Regions from separate parts of the Homo sapiens genome. Here region 2 is linked to region 1. The links are contacts of gene promoters, found by promoter capture Hi-C in human tissues and cell types (Jung and others, 2019). All regions are on one chromosome and are shown on one strand. The core of a region is centred on a gene start or on the middle of the fragment in contact, and the rest is flanking DNA. Distances in the headings are between cores, read along the strand shown. Region 1 overlaps LOC102724687 (a long non-coding RNA gene). Region 2 holds the start of TRIM55 (tripartite motif containing 55).

What was found. Contacts are between HindIII fragments. The study calls those that stand out against the background at their distance.
Region 2: the fragment with the promoter of TRIM55 here is called in contact with a fragment that was not itself captured in region 1 in 1 of the 25 tissues and cell types used here (lymphoblastoid cells).

Annotation. Positions count from the first base shown.
Region 1 is chr8:66,370,213-66,373,767 of GRCh38, forward strand. The region is part of intron 1 of LOC102724687 (a long non-coding RNA gene); the gene reads right to left. Among named protein-coding and RNA genes, the nearest start is that of RRS1-DT, 57 kb to the right of the region's middle. The HindIII fragment of the contact is 6,849 bases long and covers 1-3,555 here.
Region 2 is chr8:66,125,606-66,129,160 of GRCh38, forward strand. TRIM55 (tripartite motif containing 55) reads left to right here and starts at 1,524. Exons shown (of 10, transcript NM_184085.2): 1 at 1,524-1,831; 2 at 2,699-2,871. The coding sequence starts at 1,664. RefSeq lists a silencer at 1,070-1,342. The HindIII fragment of the contact is 11,068 bases long and covers 1-3,126 here.

The DNA of each region.
Region 1 (3,555 bases), core at 779-3,278:
CTTCTGAGGCTGAGTGCAGGAGGTATTGTTTCCCTTTTGAAGATGTCTCCAGATTGACACCCTAGCTAAAACTATCCACAGAACTTATACCCTTTGATAAGCTCCAGGGAGAAACAAAAGCCTTCCAAATTCCAGGACAATGGAATTGTTATTTTGGGCTTTTCTTTCAGTGTCATTTCACTGTATTAGATAGATAAATGAGATGGCCTAATTATGGGTTAAAAATCATAGATATCACACCTGTAATCCCAGCACTTTGGGAGGCCAAGGCAGGCAGATCACCTGAGGTCAAGAGTTTGAGATCAGCCTGGCCAACATGGTGGAACCCCATCTCTACCCAAAAAAAACAAATACAAAAATTAGCTGGACCTAGTGGAGCACACCTGTAGTCCCAGCTACTCAGAAGGCTCAGGCAGGAAAATCGCTTGCACCCAGAAGGGGAGATTGCAGTGAACCGAGATTGTGCCACTGCACTCCAGACTGGGCGAAAGAGCGAGACTCTGTCTCAAAAAAAAAAAAGTGAAGGACACATGTAGATCCTCAAATTGTTTCTTCTAATCATCAAATTAGGATTTCTGTTAACTTTAAGTTACAAATCATGAGCAATTATATATGCATAATGAAACTATGAATACAAGCCTATAATCATAGCAGAACTGAGAAATATAAACATCCATGCACATTCAAATAATTACATTGTTGATCTTGATCATTTGAAATTCTGTATCAACAGAGGCATGTCTTTCTGGGTCAAAAAGCTAGATATAGAAAAAGGGAACTCCTAGGGACAGGATTTATGCTTTTCCCAATGCCTGATACCATACTTGGCATATGCTAGATGCTCAAGAAATAATCACTGGACAAATGAATTAATTAGTGAAAATTATATCTCTATCTTTCCTCTACTCCCAAATTCCATCACAAACTGGATGGCTCATTGCTACCTTAAACTCAACAAGATTCAACCCAGGCCAGGCATGGTAGCTCACAGCTGTAATCCTAACACTTTAGGAGACCAAGGCATGTGGATCACCTGAGATCAGAAGTTTGAGACCAGCCTAGACAACATGGCAAAACCCCATCTCTACGAAAAATACAGAAGCTAGCCAGGCATGGTGGTTCATGCCTGTAATCCCAGCTACTCAGGAGGCTGAGGCAGGAGAATTACTTGAACCTAGAGAAGTGGAGGTTGCAGTGAGCCAAGATCGCACCACTGCACTCCAGCCTGGGTGACAGAGTGAGACTCTGTCACACACACACACACAAAAAATCCTTTTTTCATGATTTTCTATTTCTATCAATTTTCTGAGTCACCCAAGCTCAAGTCTGCATTTGGTTTTTCATCTCATACTTAGTCACTTTCTATCAGTTACCAATTCCTATTGATGGTTTTTAAAGGGTAAACCTCACATCTGTTCCTTCTTTTTTCATTCATTCCACTGTTGACCATCTAAGAACATGAACCAATGTTTCTCCTTATGTCTGTGATCATTTTGCTCCCTGGGGCATAGGGAGGTGCTTCCTTCATGAGATGAACTGTCTAAACATTTTAGCCTAGCATGTTCAGCATGACCAGAACAGACACCACATGATCAGATCCAGAATTACCTTTCCAGCCCTAATCTGTACAGGTATGTTACATATACTTTATTTCCTGATTCCTCTGGATTAGTTGTCCCCCTCTCCAGACTCTGCTGCTTTACTCGAGCCTGGAGAGTCTTATGTACCCTTGATATCCAGCTCAAATATTTCCTCATCCATAAGTCCTCAGTGACTGCCATCCAGAGTAAGCACATCCTTGTCTTAATCTGCTCAAGCTGCTATAACAAAATGCCTTAAACTGGGTAATTTATAAACAACAGAAATTTATTGTCCACAGTTCTGGAGACTGGAAGTCCAAGATCAAGGTGCCAGCAGATTCAGTGTCTGGTGAAGGCCTTTTCCTCATAGATGTGTCCTCACATAGGAGAAGGGGAAACAGGCTCTTTCAAGCCTCTTTTTTTTTTTTTTTTTTTTTTTTGAGACGGAGTCTTGCTGTTGCCCAAGCTGCTGGATGCAGTGGCATGATCTCAGCTCACTGCAACCTCCACCTCCCAGATTCAAGAGATGCTCGTGCCTCAGCCTCCCGAGTAGCTGGGACTATAGGTGTGCACCAACATGTCCATTAATTTTTGTATTTTTAGTAAAGATGGAGTTTCACCACATTGGCCAGGCTGGTCTCAAACTCCTGGCCTCAAGTGATCTGCCCACCTCGGCCTCCCGAAGTGCTGGGATTACAGGCATGAGCCACCATGCCTGGCCCAAGCCTCTTTTACAGTTGCACTAATCCCATTCATGAGTGTGGAACCCTTATGACCTAATCACTTCCTAAAGGCCCACCTCTTAATGTCACCAAATTGGGGATTTGGTTTCAACGTGAATTTTGAAGAGACATAAAATTCAAACCACAGCACCCCTCCATAAATTCCCAGACTACTTAAATCAAGTCTCTCTTAAGAAACTTACCACATTTGACTTTGCATTTTTAAAGATTATGCACTTATTTTGATCATCCTCACTAGGTCATAAATTCATCTACTTGTTAAAAAACACGCATAGAATACTTATTGTGCTCAAGGAACTGGGATAGACAGTGATGCTTCAGCAATGAAGAAGACAGTCACAGTCTCTTCCCTGATGAAGCTTCCTTTGCAGCAAAAGAAATGGGAATTTTCAAAAAACCGTAAAAAAGCCAGAGCAAATGAAGGAGAAAGTAAATGAGGCAAATGCAGAAATGTGGACAGAACCTGCCTATGAAGGGGCCTTGTAGGTTATGATAAAGAATGTAGTATTCTTCTCAATGTGCAGGAAGCCATTGATGGGCTTTCTGCAGAGGAAAGACATATTGGGCTTGGGTTTGTCAGAGGCTTCACTGGCTGCTATGTGGAGAAGAGGCTGTAGAGAAACTAGTTAAGCAGACTACTCGCATATCTAGGCAAATATCAATCGTGGCTTACTCTAGAGTGGTAACAGTGAAGATGCAGAAAAGTAGAGGCATCAGAGGTACTCTCTAGAGATAAAGCCTGCAGAATTTGTTCACGGATTGAACGTAGGAGAAAGGAAAACAAGAATTAAGATTGAGTCCTAGCTTTTTGACCTGAGCAACTCTGTGGATGCCATTTACTGAGTAGAATATGTTGAAGAAAGAACCAAGGTGATGAGTGATGAATAGAGAGGCTTGAGCATGTTTGAATGCTGATGGAAATCAGCCATTGGAGAGAAGGCGAGTGAAGATACAGGGTAAAGAAGGAATCAATCTTTAGTGGGCCCCAGAGTTGCAAAGTCTGGGCTACCTGCCAACATGGGCACTTAGGGGCTAAGTGTCACTAAGTTCATGGAACCTTAGACCATACACTTCGGCCAGTCAGGATGGAGGGAACACTGGGTTATACATGCATGAAAGAGAGGATGAGTCTGTTCAATGACCACAATTCTCAATCCTAATCTTGACATCTTTCAGAAGCAACACTAAAGGAAGAAATTTTAGAACATTTTTTGTCACTGTTCTCTATCCAG
Region 2 (3,555 bases), core at 274-2,773, 250 kb before region 1:
GCCTAGGCTGGGTGAACCAAAGTAACTCAGTAAAAAAACTTTACCAGTTCCCGTCCTCCCTGTAGTTGCTAAATAAATATTGAAAGGACTAAGATAATTCTCTAAAGATCCCTGATATGCTTATGAATATATATAACTTATTATTAGTTAATAGAGCTTACTAGATTCTCAATAAGCTCTCCGTGCACACAGCACTAAGACCACACATAACTGACCTACACTTCACTGGTAATTTAATTCACACCAGGGATATGTTAACAAAATGTGTTTATTGCCCAAGGTTTTTAAAATGAAGGAGAAAGAAAGCCGAAATTTATCACATATAAACAGACTTGGATTTCTTTTTTATTTTTGATCTGATTTAAACATTTTTAAATACAATATGTATTGGTTAAACTGTTGCTTCACAAAATCCTGATGAATGTCAGAATCGATGTTTATGACTCAAGAGCAGACCAAGAATATCAGAAATGACCAGAGAAACTATGGTTTAACAAGTCACCTTGGAGGAAGGGGAAATGCAAGGGAGAATAGGTATTTTGGAGGCAGATGAAATGCAGATATGGAAGTAGGACTCCATTTATACTTCAGTTGTCAATGGCACTGGTAACTGTCCCCCAAGGGATGACAAAATAAAATAATAGATCTGCCACCTCCAGGTGCCTGCCAGTTACTACCTCATTACAGATTATTGTTGCAAACTATTATATAATTTAAGAATTTAAATAATCAGTAAAAGACTATCAAATTTTCTTTGTGTTTTTGGGTGTATGTAGGAGGTGGGGCAGTATAGGATGAAAGAGGGCCAAGGAAGAGGAAAGCAATGTGGAAGAGCAAACAGCATACTAGAGTTGTTTTATAATGTAACTTTTTTCTCAAATAATTAGATCATCCACTGGTTTTGAATTTTTATTTATGCATGTATTTATTTATTTATTAGGTGGATACCTTTATGGTGAAGGGATTTGAATTTAGCTTTTAAATTGGAATTTTTCAAAGACCACAACCCCAGCTGACAAAGATGAAATACTTAACATTAAGAAAGTCTTTTTGATGATTGCCTTTGTGAAGCCAGGATAACAATTTTCGAGACATGTTTTGTTCATTTTCACCTAAGAAGGTGCTATTAGGCTACTTTCCGTGACTCAATTCCTACACTCTCAAGACAGGGCTGGCATTAGTTACACAGACTCTGTGCTGCGTTCTGCCCCTTCCTGGAGAAGCCATCGCCAAGTTCTCAGTGAGTGCTCACAGAGGGCATGGTTCAGTGGCTAGGCATGCACATTTGCATTTGTTGTTGACAACTGTCAGCTTCGACCTCCTTCTCCTCACAACCCCGTCTAAATGGGGTTTGTAATCCTCCTTCCCACCCACTCTCTTCACTCCCTGGGGCAAGAATGTTGACTCCTGCTCTCCGTCACCTGTCAGGATCCATCCTCCTGTCACTGGCTTATATGGACACGTCAGCCCACCGTCACGTGACCGCAGGCTGCTAAAAACAGCTCCAGCACCCACTCCAAACCAGGGCCTGAAACAATGTCCTCCACCGAGAGAAACGTAAAGGACACTTGATCACACAATCCCTGGAATAATATCCAGGAAACACTTGCTGGAGCCACTCGCAGCACCCTTCCCTGGCAGCACACTTGGGGACAGCGAGGAGATGAGCGCATCTCTGAATTACAAATCTTTTTCCAAAGAGCAGCAGACCATGGATAACTTAGAGAAGCAACTCATCTGTCCCATCTGCTTAGAGATGTTCACGAAACCTGTGGTGATTCTCCCTTGTCAGCACAACCTGTGTAGGAAATGTGCCAGTGATATTTTCCAGGTAGGTTTGTTTGGAATTTGGTTGAGGGGAGGGGGTGGAAAAGATTCCCTCCTCTTGGAATCAAGTGCTTAACATTGAGGTGAAATCCTTTAAAAAACTTTATAAGGTTGCCGGGCGCTTTGGCTCACGCCTGTAGTCCCAGCACTTTGGGAGGCTGAGGCCAGTGGATCACCTGAGGTCAGGCCTTCGAGACCAGGCTGGCCAACATGGCAAAACCCCATCTCCACTAAAAATACAAAAAAAAAAAAATTAGCTGGGCATGGTGGCGGGCACCTATAATCTCAGGTACTTGGGAGGCTGAGGCAGGAGAATTGCTTGAACCCAGGAGGCGGACATTGCAGCGAGCGGAGATCGTGCCATTGCCCTCCGGCCTGGGCAACAGAGCAAGACTCTGTCTCAAAAAAAGAAAAACAAACAAACAAAAAAACTTTATAAAGTTGCATTTACTTTCAAGAAAAACACGTTTCTTTTAATGATTTGGTTTGTGTCCTCTTTACTCCCAAATCTAGTTTTATTTTAATACTAAGAATCATATTTTTTTTTAAGTCAAACCATTTAATGTGTTTCAAAACTATAAATGAGTAACTGCTGAAGACATGAGTGTGGAGTTTCTGGCTGGAACTTTTGGTTCTGAAAGTGGTGGACGGAAAAGCACCTTACGTGGACAATGGTATATTCGCAGATGACTGTGGATAAGGTCTGACCCTGTGTTTCAGGACCACTTGCTGAGAAAGCCCTGAGGGATGATCTTATGGCAAGCTTAAAGTAGAAGTTCATGTTGTTTGTAGTAGCAGAGAGTGAAAATAAGTCTCAGAGAAGCTGCTTGTGGCATTACCCAATTCCTTTTTTCTTACTTGGCAAGAACAGGCCTCTAACCCGTATTTGCCCACAAGAGGAGGTACCACCATGGCATCAGGGGGCCGATTCCGCTGCCCATCCTGTAGACATGAAGTGGTTTTGGATAGACATGGGGTATATGGACTTCAGAGGAACCTGCTGGTGGAAAATATCATTGACATCTACAAGCAGGAGTCCACCAGGTAACACTCTTCCACTCTTCCATGTGTCAAGCCCATCTGAAACTTGTTTTTGTTTGTTTGTTTTAATGGGTTGCTACGCTGAATGCTTGTTTATCAATCACAGACTGTTTTATGGAAAAATGGTTTTCCAAGTCAGTCCTTCCCAGTGAGACTGAGAGTTGCTCACAGCAGGAGAGAGGGGAGTTGGTGCCCATGCTTTTGTATCAATTTAAGAATGAAGTGACTCATTAACACCAATCCATTCCAGATGGTGATGCTGAAAGAGACATACTGCTGTCCCCCTCCACCTTAAAGCCTGGTATTACATCCATTTTACACATTTTGCACTTCACAGGCACTTTGTAGCTCCAGATCCCTACAAAGCAAAGAAAAAAAAATCTAGTAAATACTTAATAGAAAATTAATAGAAATGGCATCTTCCGAAGTAGCCCAGTTCCTAGTTCAGACAGTCTTGCCTTAAAATTGTTTGGATGATAATAAAAACAAAATCCTCTAACATAGGTTGTCACTGTATTTACTCTAAGGGAAGTCACAAAGCAAGGCAAAACCCTGGCCTTTAGGGACTTAAACTTCAGAGCCATGAGGAAAAAAAAGGGTGAAATTCAGGTTATGTTTCCCTATTCCTTATACTGTATTTACTGCATAGTCAGCATTCACTTGTTGATTGTGAATAACATCGTGATA